Linked DNA regions of Homo sapiens: region 1 is linked to region 2. The links are contacts of gene promoters, found by promoter capture Hi-C in blood cells and fetal thymus (Javierre and others, 2016). All regions are on one chromosome and are shown on one strand. The core of a region is centred on a gene start or on the middle of the fragment in contact, and the rest is flanking DNA. Distances in the headings are between cores, read along the strand shown. Region 1 overlaps CEP295 (centrosomal protein 295). Region 2 holds the start of NPAT (nuclear protein, coactivator of histone transcription).

What was found. Contacts are between HindIII fragments. The CHiCAGO score rates a contact against its expected background, and 5 or more counts as called.
Region 1: a contact is called between a fragment that was not itself captured here and the fragment with the promoter of NPAT in region 2, in 1 of 17 cell types (total B cells). The highest score is 6.8, in total B cells.

What each region holds. Positions count from the first base shown.
Region 1 is chr11:93,723,011-93,729,218 of GRCh38, reverse strand. CEP295 (centrosomal protein 295) reads right to left here. Exons shown (of 30, transcript NM_033395.2): 21 at 5,930-6,178; 22 at 4,844-4,965; 23 at 3,388-3,568; 24 at 1,582-2,243; 25 at 398-538. Among named protein-coding and RNA genes, the nearest start is that of SNORA25, 4.5 kb to the left of the region's middle. The HindIII fragment of the contact is 5,069 bases long and covers 389-5,457 here.
Region 2 is chr11:108,217,969-108,223,887 of GRCh38, reverse strand. It overlaps NPAT (nuclear protein, coactivator of histone transcription), which reads left to right and starts at 1,250. Exons shown (of 18, transcript NM_002519.3): 1 at 1,250-1,388. The coding sequence starts at 1,352. It overlaps ATM (ATM serine/threonine kinase), which reads right to left and starts at 821. Exons shown (of 63, transcript NM_000051.4): 1 at 702-821. RefSeq lists enhancers at 335-414, 725-884, 1,295-1,354, 4,330-4,831, 5,392-5,536 and a cis regulatory region at 5,464. The HindIII fragment of the contact is 4,203 bases long and covers 1-1,481 here.

The DNA.
Region 1 (6,208 bases), core at 1,674-4,173, about 14 Mb after region 2:
CTCCACTGCCCTCACACCTCTAGGCCTCTGTTTAGATAGCTTTATTCTTATTGCCTCCCTACTCCCCTAGTAAAATTACCAGTTGTTCTGAAGTCATTTTTCAATATCTGGGAATAAGTTTAGGTAAAACTTCCAACTTGGCACTATAACACTAGGTGTATAAGATTAGTTCTGCCAGTCTTGGAGACAGGCATAAATTGGAGTGGGGATTAAAAGAAAATGCACAATGGTTGACAGAATAGTGAAGGTTTAAGACAAATTGAGAGCTGGTGGGGGTGTCGGCTTAGTTAAATGCATAGCATAATTCCCTCCAATGAGTACCTTCTGATAAGTTGTAAGAGACAAATCAACTGGTTTGCTTGTAATAGAATAAAATAGAAGGAAAGCTTAAATTTACCTGAAAGAAGCATTTTGCTTCATTCTCGCTCTTCTCTTCTAGGGTTAAATTTGCAAAATCCATTTCAGCAATACTGGTATCAGTGGTGCTTATTAAAGTAAGTTCTGGTTCTTCCATTATACCATGGCCAGTTTCTGTTTCCTGTGAACCACAATTAAAAGGAAAACCATGTCAAAATAGCCTTAAAAGACTTAAACTAATCGTTTTGTATATAATGCACATTTTTTGCAAGTGTATATAAATGTGAAAATGGAGGAAGAAAAGCAATGATTGGCAAAGACCAACAGATCAGATTTCCTTAGGCTTCCATAACTCCAGCATTCAGTTGTAGAAATACTGGAGCCTACTTTGGGGAGGGGATGAAATAGTGTGACAATGGACTGAAAGGTATCTACCACAATGATTACAAACCTAAATGCTTGTAGTGTTGGGCAAAAAATATAAATGCAGGTTGGCTGTGCCGAATTGTATCCTTTAAAGGGAGCAGGGGTCGACTGGGCTGCTACCAAATGTGGGCCACTGACTGCTAACAGATAATGTTTCAAAAGTATCTAAACACAACAAGAACAAAAGCAGCCACATAAAACGTGGTTTAGTTGTAATTCTTATTTTCAATCTGTTATGTTTATTTGTGGAAGGATAAACTGCACATACTGCTAGATGAAAACCAGTCACCAGTTGACTGGTGTTGAAAGCAAGCAGATTATAAGTTGCTTAATATGAGGAGCAGGTTTCCAATACTTATTCCAATAATGGATGAATTCATTGCACTGGAATGAGGCTCAACACTGAAAGTGCTGAAGCACAGGCAGAACCACCATTTTTCAGGGAAGTTGGAGAAAGGATATCTGAATTGGGAGAAAAAGGATCTTTTGTAAAATACTCTCAGAAGACAGTTTTCAAATTTTTAAGTTTCTGCATTATGCTGGATATTTCTAGTGATCACAAGCTGGATAGCAATATTAACAAGCAGTTTTGCTTGTATTTTGTTTCAGGTTTTTCCTGCCAGGCATTGTGGTGTGTCCAAACTACTTCGGAAGTTGAGGCAGGAGGATCCCTTGATCCTAGGAGTTTGAGTTCAGCCTGGGTAGCATAGTGGGAACTTCATCTCTAATTTTAGAAGAAAAAAGTTTTTTCCCAAAAAGGAATTTAAATGTTATTTATACAACACTGATTTCACTTACCCAGACTGGTATAGAGCTCTGTAATGAAAATGATCCAGAACTTGCAAAAAGCTCTGATTCTCCTAGTTGAGATAGTTTTTTGGTGATTTTTGGAATGTCTGTTTCAGCTGAATTCTCAAAATATTTTTCATTTTGAGTAGTTAAGGAATATGGTGCCTGAATTGAAGTTCCCATCTCCACTGTTCTTACACATAATCGAGAGTCAGTTTCCTCTACCTGTGGATTTATGTCTAAAACCCTACAGGTTTCATTTTTATTATCTTCAATGAGTCCTTGACTTTGTAACATTGTAACAACCCCTCTTTTTGATAGTTCTTCAAAGCCCATACTTTCCTTTCTGCTTTCTAGTTGGTGTTTTGTTGAGCACTCACTAGAGTTAGAACCACATGGAGTGCTATGCTGTACATTTAACTGATCAAATACATTAGCTTCATCAGATGAACTGTAGACTGAACTTAAGTTTCCTATAGAAAGCTGGAAATGAACAATTTTTTTCTTGTTTTGTAATATTTCAGTATGTTCTTCAGAGGGATAGTTCTGATTTTTCATGCCTTGGGAAGAATCTCTTGCTTCAATGCTAAAAATACTTGGTAGATCAGCATGCTGGCTCTCCTCCTGTGAAGAATATTCTGGCTGAAGCTGTTCAAAACATTGTTCAGATCCTGCATTAAGAAATTCAAAAATCAGTTAATCATCGTTACATGTTGTAAAAGTTGGATACTGACAGTCTCTAATAGTTTATCATCCAATTGCAAGTAACCTACAATTTTAGGCATAAAAGTTGATGTGTATAAACATGAATACAAAGATAAGGATGGTCACAGTGATTTCTCAAACTACAGCTCACACCAAGTATTTTTTCTTTTTCTATTAATATTTAATAAGGACAATATGGCTATAAACTGAGGATGTTTTCCTCTATAAGAACTGAATATGACTTTAATAACAGAAAAGAGAATAAAGCATCCATGTGTATCTCAATTATCCATGTGTGTATATATAATTTGTACATCCTTGTGTATCTCATGTATGTTTGTGTGTATATATAATCATTTGTACCAAAGGCTCAAGAATACTTGTTTTCTATGTTGCCCAGGCTGGTCTTGAACTCCTGGGCTCCAGGGATCCTCCTGCCGCAGCTTCCCAAAGTGCTAGGATTACAGGCGTGAGCCACTATACTTGGCCTAAGAAGAATACTTAAACTGGCTGGGCATGGTGGCTCACACCTGTAATCCCAGCACTTTGGGAGGCCAAGACGAGTGGATCATCTGAGGTCGGGAGTTCTAGACCAGCCTGACCAACATAGTGAAACCCTGTCTATACTAAAAATAGAAAATTAGCTGGGTGTGGTGGCACATGCCTGTAATCCCAGCTACTTGGGAGGCTGAGTGAGGCAGGAGAATCACTTGAACCCAGCAGGCGGAGGTTGCAGTGAGCCAAGATTGCACCACTGCACTCCAGCCTGGGCAACAAGAGTGAAACTCAGTCTTCAAAAACAAAATAAAAACAAAAACAAAAACAAAAAAAACAAACAAAAAAATAATACTTAAACTGTTAACTATCACATAATGATTGAGGTAGGGAAATTGAGGAACAAGAGGCAACACTTTTCCTTTTATTTCATAATGTTCAGTATTGTTTAAAAAAATGCATGTATTACTTCTGTAATTTAAATATTTTTTAACACCCAGGATAGGGGTGAGAGCAGGGGTGAAGACAAACCAAGAGGTGCTAGGCTTAATTTCTAAGGAAATGGATGTAAAAAATCATGGAAAAATTAACTTTTTCTAACTTAGTCATACATACCCCCAATAATATTTTCTGTAGCAAAACTGTGAGCTCCAACATGAGCCAAGTTAGTGTCAGGTTGTTGATTCGGACTTGTGTTAAGAGAAGAATGCATGCTGGTCCTCCTCAGTGCTGTGAAATAAACTGTACTTTTGGATAATCCAGTAGCACAGTGGCTTTCAGATGAAGAATCTGATCTCTGGCAGGAAACAAAAGGGAAAGGCTGAAATACTGATTAGGTATTAACAATTGAAACAATAATCATTGTGTTCCTTTGGTATTACTCTTCCTTAATTATCACTTCACTATGACAGCAATGATTTGCTTTTTCAAATCCAGTTCTTTTCAATCAATATGAAAGAGACTTTAAAATGTCAGGCCATCAGGAAGTGGAAGCAAAAAGACTCAGGTTTAAATCTCAGCTCCTTTGACTGTGTAGGAGGATACTTTAAATTTTGCAAAATTGTATTTACTTTACTGTTTAAATATGTTCCACAACTAAAAGTTGTTATTAAGCCTTTTATGGCATCATACTCCCTAGGTGGAGACAGGTGGATGGGACAAACAAAATTCTAATGTAGCTGTTTTCCTTTTTTTTTTTTTGAGATGGGGTCTCACTATGTTGTCCAGGCTGGAGTGCAGTGGCACGATCTCGGCTCACTGCAACCTCTGCCTCCCAGGTTCAAGCGGTTCTCAGCCTCCCGAGTAGCTGGGACTACAGGCATGCCATCACACCCAACTAATTTTTGTGTTTTTTAGTAGAGATGGGATTTCACCATGTTGGCCAGGCTGATCTCAAACTCCTGGCCTCAAGCAATCCACCTGCCTCAGACTCCCAAAGTGCTGGGATTACAGGCATGAGCCACCGCACCCGGCCCAATGCAGCTGTTTTCAAAGTTGGTTCCACATTAGAATCACTTGGGGAGCTTAAAAAATAATAATAATAATTAGTACTATCTGAGCACTCCCAGAAACTCTGCTTTAATTGGTCTAGGGTGTAGTCTGGACAATAGGATTTATTTTTATTTTTTATTTAAGTTTTCCATGTGATTCTTTTTGTTTGTTTGTTTGTTTCTTTTTTTAAAGACAGGGTCTGGCTCTGTCACCCAGACTGGAGTGTAGTGGCACGATCTCAGCTCACTGCAGCCTCCACCTCCTGGGCTCAAGTGGTCCTCCCACCTCAGCCTCCCGAGTAGCTGGGACTACAGGTGCGCACCACGACACCTGGCTAATTTTTGTATTTTCAGTAGAGACAGGGTTTTGCCATGTTGGCCAGGCTGGTCTCGAACTCTTGGCCTCAAGTAATCTGCCCGCCTTGGGCTCTCAAAGTGCTGGGATTACAGGTGTGAGCCACTGTGCCCAGACTTCCATGTGATTCTAGGTAAGGGTTTAGAAGAACTTTTGTTCCAGTAGAAGAAATGGCTTAAAACTATTTTTAGATATTCACTGCAATGGGACATCTACTTTAATATACCTGGTAAAAGTCTCTGTTGTCTGGAGAAATCCCAGAGGATGATGATGATAAGTCAAAATCTGGATGTGGTTCTAAGGGTTTAAACAGCTGATGATGCAAATTAGGAAAAATGTGTTCCAATTCTGGAAAGTCAAGGTCAACTGTTAGAATTTTTGAGGGAAAAAAATCATAAATTTATTTTTAAGGTAAACACTAGAAAAGGAGTATTAAGAACATATTCATAAACGCTTATTTTCAGGTAACTCCAGTGTAACAAAAACTTCAGTTTTTCCCCCATGATCAGCAGATGCTTTAAAGTTAAGTCCTATCATGATTATTTCAAAGGTCCAAAATATGGATCCTCTCAGTGACCAAAACTTTTTAAGTTTTATTTTTAGAGAAATTTAATTTTTTTAAATTTAAAAAATTTTTTTTTAAAATAGAGATGGGGTCTCAGTGTTGCCCAGGCTGGTCTTGAAATCCTGGGCTCAAGCAATCCTCCTGCCTCAGCCTCCCAAAGTGCTACGATTACAGGTATGAACAAACTTTTGACAAATACGAATTTCCATTTCCACAGCCTTATGAGGCTAATGAGGATCAACAGGACATATGTAACCACTGCTTCAGTATAAGCTTAAAAAAGGAAAAAGGCTCACTGTATTCAGTGTTACTATGGGCCAGACATTGTGCTTTATGTGCACTATCTCATTTAATCTATAATATTCCTCTTTTATAAAAGATTAAAAAGTAACTTGCCCATGGTTTTACAGCTAGGAAATGGTCAGGCTATGACTCAAATCCAGAACTGTATGATTTCTGAGCTCCTGCTCTTATTTATCAGTAATACCGCCTCAGCCGTAATAGCTAACTCTGCAATGGCAAAGGAAGATTTGCTAATTAATCTCCTATAAATGTGCCTCAGTGAGTCTAATTGGTTCCAGATCCCCTTTCTCACTAAATGCCCTCAATATATTCTGTGGTAAAACGGTGTTGTAGCAGGCCATAAGAACATGAAGCTCAAACAATCACTGCATAAAATTTAAAATGATGAAAGGTGAAAATTTAAAACTTAATTTACATAAAAGTATTGCTTTAAAATAATTTTACCTTGCAAATCTGTTTTTTCAGGTATCAAATTTGCTTCATTAATGTACTTGTCTATCATTTGCTGAAAGTGTGTGTGACCACATGTAGTTTCATCCACTGCAGGCAACAGAGATTTATGAACGTCTGAAGAGTTCTGCCGCTGATAAATATCTTGTGTTGAAGGAACTATGGAACTTATAATATTTGTTTCCTCTTCTTTACTGGTGGTAGATTCTTGCTTGCTATCATCCATGTGCTCTGAAAATGACTCTGAAAATTGAGTTTAATGAAAATATGTAA
Region 2 (5,919 bases), core at 1-2,500:
ACACTTTGTGCCTTTACACGCATTTTTCCTTCCATCTGGAAGGCTTCTACCATCTGCCAAGGTAACACTGCGAGGTCTCACCACAAACTGAATTGATAGTCTCAGGCTGAGTTTGCAGAGAACCAAAGTCACTCCTCTACCATCAGAGTACTCCCCTATCACCACATACATTATCATCCACTGTAGTTGTCTTATCTGTACCTGGTAAATACAGCAGCTAACGCTCACGAGTGCTCACCACAGGTCAAGATTATCTCACTTATCTTCACAAGACAGTAGAGAGCGGCCACACGACTGACAGAATTCCAATTCCAGCCGTATGATTCCAGAGCCCAAGCTCTTAACCGCGAGGCTGAAGTTGAAATATCAATAAATGCTCGCTGACTAAAAGTACTAAATACGAGAGAGAGATCAAAAGATGACTAGTCAAGTCGCGTAGTTAAATCTGAACCCTAAGGTGACACAAAAAGAGGATGCGCAGGAGGCAGGGTTCAATTCAGGGCGTTTAAAAGGAGGAGGTTATTGGCCAAGTCCGCTAAGCACCCGGAGAGAGGCCAGGAAAGATGGAGTGAGGAGAGGGAGGAGTCAAGGGCCACTCTGGAGGGGTGCATGAGATTGGCGGTCTGGGGAGAGGACAGACTGGGTCGCACACGACTGAATTTCCCAGCGCAGAAGCCGCTGCGTTGCCTCCGCGCCCCTACCACTGCACTCGGAAGGTCAAAGTAGTATCAACCGCGGCGGTGGCTGCAGCGCAGATCCCGACTCCTCTCGCCTCCTCCCGCGGCCACGGCTTCTTTTCTCCGTTAGCCACGCAGCTACCTACTCCCGCTTCCGGTTCAAACCCTGCGTGACTGCCCAGCGCCCACTTCTGGAGGAAGAAGCAACGCCAAGCAGCCGCAGAGCACGGTATGCCCATGCGCATCCAGTATCACGCGGTCTCCGCGCTCAAAACACTGCCCCAAAACATTCGGCCCGTCGGAGCAAACGCGCCTGCGCCATGTCCACCAATGGCCAGCGACTTAGCGTTTGCGGCTCGCCCTTCGGCTCGGGCTCCGGGGCTCTCACCCACCCTCTTCGCCCTCGTCGTCCTCCCCGCCCTCCTCATCCCCGCCCCTCCAAGTCTGAGGACGGAAGTGACGACAGTTCCGAAGGCGAACGGAGGCGGGTTTCATTTCGGCGCCTTTCTTTCTCTGGCGGAAGCGATTGGCTGCCGTGAAGCGAAAGAGGCGGGACAAATTGCCGCGAGTTCAGTGCCGCCACTGGAACCAGGAGATGCGGCGCAGGAGCTGTCGCTGTGTTTGCTTTAACCTGAGTCTTGTTCCTTATTGTGGTTCCTGCTGTGGTTTTGATCATGTTGTTACCCTCGGACGTAGCCCGGCTTGTATTGGGTAAGCGCGGACGCGGGATGGAGGGTTATTGGACCCGGCTATGCTGGACAGAAGGACCTTTGAGGCCAAAGGTTTTCCCTTGGTAGGGAAGCTTTGGGGTTTTGCCTCCCAGCTTACGAGTTGAGACTGGCGGTGATTCTTCGTCATTCGGAGGTTCTGGGCAGTTTAAGCCTCTTTGTATGTAGATGCTCCTCTCTTCAGAGGCTGCGTGGCGAGGGGAAGCCCGAGGGGAAGCTCGGGGTGGAACACCTGGGGCGGATTCGGAAGGAAAGTCAGGCCTCCACACTTAATTAGGACCCCTGAAAGAGCATTTGTCTGCATGACGGACGGATTGCGTGTGCTTCAACCTTGGGCGCAATTTCCTTGGTTCAGTGTTGGGACCAAAATAGGGCAAATAGGGAGTTCCCCGGCCCCCCATCTTTGTAGAGAGACCTTCCTGGCGCCCTTCTAATAACCCGCCCTTATAACTACGAATTTGGGAGTAGGGGTGATCTTCCTTCTCCATCCTCCACGCAATACGTCGTCCAGTGTAGAGGTGTGAAATGCCAGTTGCATATTTTAAAACAGCAATTCCTGTTCCTTTGATCAGCGAAAAATTTCAGAGGGTTAATTGCCTTAAATTAGTTGAACGTTTTCTAGCCCTAGTTTTACCTTCATTTGAGGAGGGATTGTTTGTGGGTCACTTGTCTGTCAGGGTGTATTGTCTGTGTGAGAGACGGGTTTTGTTGTTGTTTGTCCCCTGAAAGAATAAAGAGGATTGTACTACAGGGGACGAGAGCCAGGTAAAGCTCAAAACCCGAGCCAGTAATTTACGGACGTCGTATGCGACGTCCCTAAAAGTAAATGGCAAGCATCTGTGATGAAACCTCCCATAGTATTCACAGCCATTACTACTATTATTTTATTGTTCGGAAAACCCATTTGTCTTGTGCCTCTTTTAAATGCCCAGCGCTGTCCACAAAAATGTTATTTGCGCAGGGCTCTTGATAAGCACATTTTGCAGGAAACGTTAAACGGAAATGGTTCCACCATCCATTTTTGAAGAAACTTAATGACAAGTTTAATGTTTTGTTAATGTCTGATTAATCTTTTGCTTAAGAATTCTGAGTTTTGGCAGTTTGGTAATCTAGTTGAGTTTCGGTAACTATAGTCTTAAACATGGTTTCTCAGCCTCAGTACTGTTAACATTTTGGGCCTCATAATTCTTTATTGTGGGGAGCTATCCTGTGCTCAAACATTGTAGGATGTTTAGCAGCATTCCTGGCTTCTATTCACTAGATTACAGTAGGACACCCGTTCCCCACCCTACCCTTACCCAGTTGTGATCAGTGAAAATGTCTCTAGATATTGCTAGTATGTCCCCTGGAGGGCAGAATCACCCCTAGTTAAGAAAGCCCTAAGAAAGCAGTATCATTTTCTAATTGAAATAATTCACATCGATGTGTGAGTATTCTTTCTCCACAAACCAGCTACTCTGCTGACTTCCTGCTTTTCATTTAATGGACAAAAAACGCCAGCCATGGTTTTCTTATCTTAAAAATCTTTGTCATTCACATTCCATTTTCACTGCCACCAATCCCGCAATGTGCCTGCCATTACTTCTCTTTTGGACTTCTGTCATGGCTTCCCAGACAGTTGTCCTCGCAATTCATTTTATTTACTGTTGTTACAAATCTCCCTGAAGCTTTCACACTATACCTTTTAGTCTGAAAGTTGAGATAATTCTATTCTTACTAAAAATTTCAGATGGGCAGGAGTATACAATACAAAAAAGCCTCCCCATGCCTAATGCTCTTACTTTTGTCGTTTATCATTTTACATCTTAAATAGATACATATCGTGTATATCTTTCTCATATGAGGTTTATTATTTACTCATGATTCTTTTCCTATCAGTACCCCCTCGCCATCTTCAGCTCCTCTTGTTATTGGTCCCTTCATAATGTTTTTTTTCTAGCAAATCTTTGGGTGCCTAGTATGTTCCAAACACTGTGCCAATTGCTGAACATAGAGAAGTTAAGTTTTCTCCCCTTAGTGTTCAGATAATTAGGTTTTTTTTAAATTCTTAAACATACACACAAAAAAACACTTTTCTGGACCCCACTAGACATTAGACACCCATTAAACAGAACATTCTGTCTTATGTTCTGTGTCACCCTTTCACAAGTCAAATTTATTCAAAGAACAATGAATTCCACTTAGTTGCTGTTCTTCACCTACCTTTTATCCTTCAGGATACTGCACTCTGACTTTTGCATCTCACTACTCCACTTAAGTAGCCCTTATTGCCTTGCTGGGATTTTACAAAATGTTGTGTGGGCCAGAATACATCAAAGTGTTTGTTGCCTCTGGGCCATCAGTTCAGTTTTTATCTATTTATTCAAGGTGCTCTGTGGAACTGATCCTACCTACCTCTCCAACTTGATCTCAACTTCCTAACATCTGTTTTATGCTGCAGACATGCCAAACGAATTGAAGTTTCTTTGAAAATTCTTGTATGTATTCTACTTCTCTTTGTCTTCCTAGTACACTTCTATTCAAGGTTCAGGTCATGCCTGATCTCTGAAACTTCATTCAGCAAGTACAGTCAGTACTTCTTAAATGTTGCCATAGCATTGTACTTCTGTTACAACCTTATCATGTCTCATTGTAGATGTGTGTTTACTTTTTTTTGATAAAATATACTAACAAAATTCAACACTTAAAAATGTATAGTTCTTAAAGCCCAAAACAATGAGTTTGTTGTTGTTGTTGTTGTTGTTGTTGTTTGTTTTTAATGTACAGATCAGTAGTGTTAACTATATTGACATTTTTCTGCAACCATCACTACCATCAGTTTCTGGAACTTTTTCATCTTCCCAATTTGAAACTTACTTGGTTTTTTGTTTTATTAGTAGTCTTAGTCATGGATGAATGGACAAGCTTCAAGAGTTCTGGGAGTCCCCAAAACTATCATCTGTGAAGGTTTTCTTGAATAGATTTGTTACCTTCTGTATGAGACAGCATGCAGTAAAAAAAGTAGAAACCATTCTGAGTATTTAACATGGAAAGATTTAATGAGAGAATTCGTTTACACTGGTGAGAGAAAAGCTAAGACGCCCAGCAGCTTACAACTAAGGCATCTCAGTGGTTAGCAACAGTAGGAAGCCACTATGCTAATGAGAAGGATAAGGAGAGAGGAAGCAATCAAGAGGCTGGTTTGACTGCGGAACGTGGAAGACTTGTCTGATGAGGGAGTGGTAGTCTTAGAGGAGACTCTACTGAGGCAGAAAGGGAATGGGGGAAAAATATGGCTGCTTCCTCCTGCCCTCCAGCCTCCCACCAGTGCTTCCTATTTACTGAGCCCAGCCAGTAGCAGGCCGACAGAAGAGCTTGGGGAACATTGCCTATATAGAGTCAAGCTTTATGTCATACAGTAGAGAGCGACAGAAGGGTCAAGAACGTGTTTGAGGTCAAACAGGACCAAAACTGACACACCCCTAACAGGTCAAGAGCTGCTGGTTCTATTCACCTTTATATCACCAAAACATAGATATTTAATAAAACATTTGCAAAAGTATGGCTCTGATTATGACACTCCTTTGTTTATTTAATAATATATGTACTCATTGCTGTCTAAAACTTTTCATGATCCTTACCCATTTTGTCTTTTCTGTTGTATCTCCAACTGTTACCCTTCATAAACCTTGTGCTGCATCCAAACTGGACATGTTCCCCAAATATGATTGCATATATACTTTCTGTCAGCTTCTTTGGGATTCCCAACCATCCTTCAGTACTCATCTGCACCTTCAAACATCACATAATTTCCAAGCTTAGTAGTGGTTTCTCCAGCCCCTCCCTTCCCATGAAGTGAGTCAGCTCTATTTTCTTACCATTTTTGCTTTGCATTACAGTTATTTGTGTATATATCTTCTATCTCCAAGTAAATTGTAACTTTATAGACAGAAACCTTGTCCCTGTTATTTGTGGATCTAGTAATATAAGACAACATAAGGTACGGCTTCCTAAGAATTATTTGCATGCTTAACGAACATTAAATTACTAATCTTTCTAGGAAATAATAAAATATGTGAAGGAGATGTTTTCACATAGCGTGCTTTACTATCTCTTGCTTGCTTTAAACCTCTCTTTTTATCTTTCCCTCTCTACAAGTAGGAAGAAAAAATACCCTTCATATAGTTAGGATCTTATCCTTTCTTCTCTTTTTCGGTTGTTTCCCCTTCAATTCATTTAGTTACTCATTACCACCTCCACTTATAATAAAAGTAGGCTGAAGATAATATTATGTTAAGAAGGAAACTCAGGCATACTTTCTTACCTATTCGGGGACCTTTGTCAGTAAGTTTACACAAAAAAATACACTTCTTTTATTCTTAAGTTGTTTTTAGGAATAAAAGGAAAAAACAGTAATAACTAATATTAGTTGTAGAATAACGATTTGTATTATACTGATAAGAGATGATTAGTGCCTAGTTTGTATTTTCTATTTTATTTATTTATTTCTTGAGACAGAATTGCACTCTTGTCAT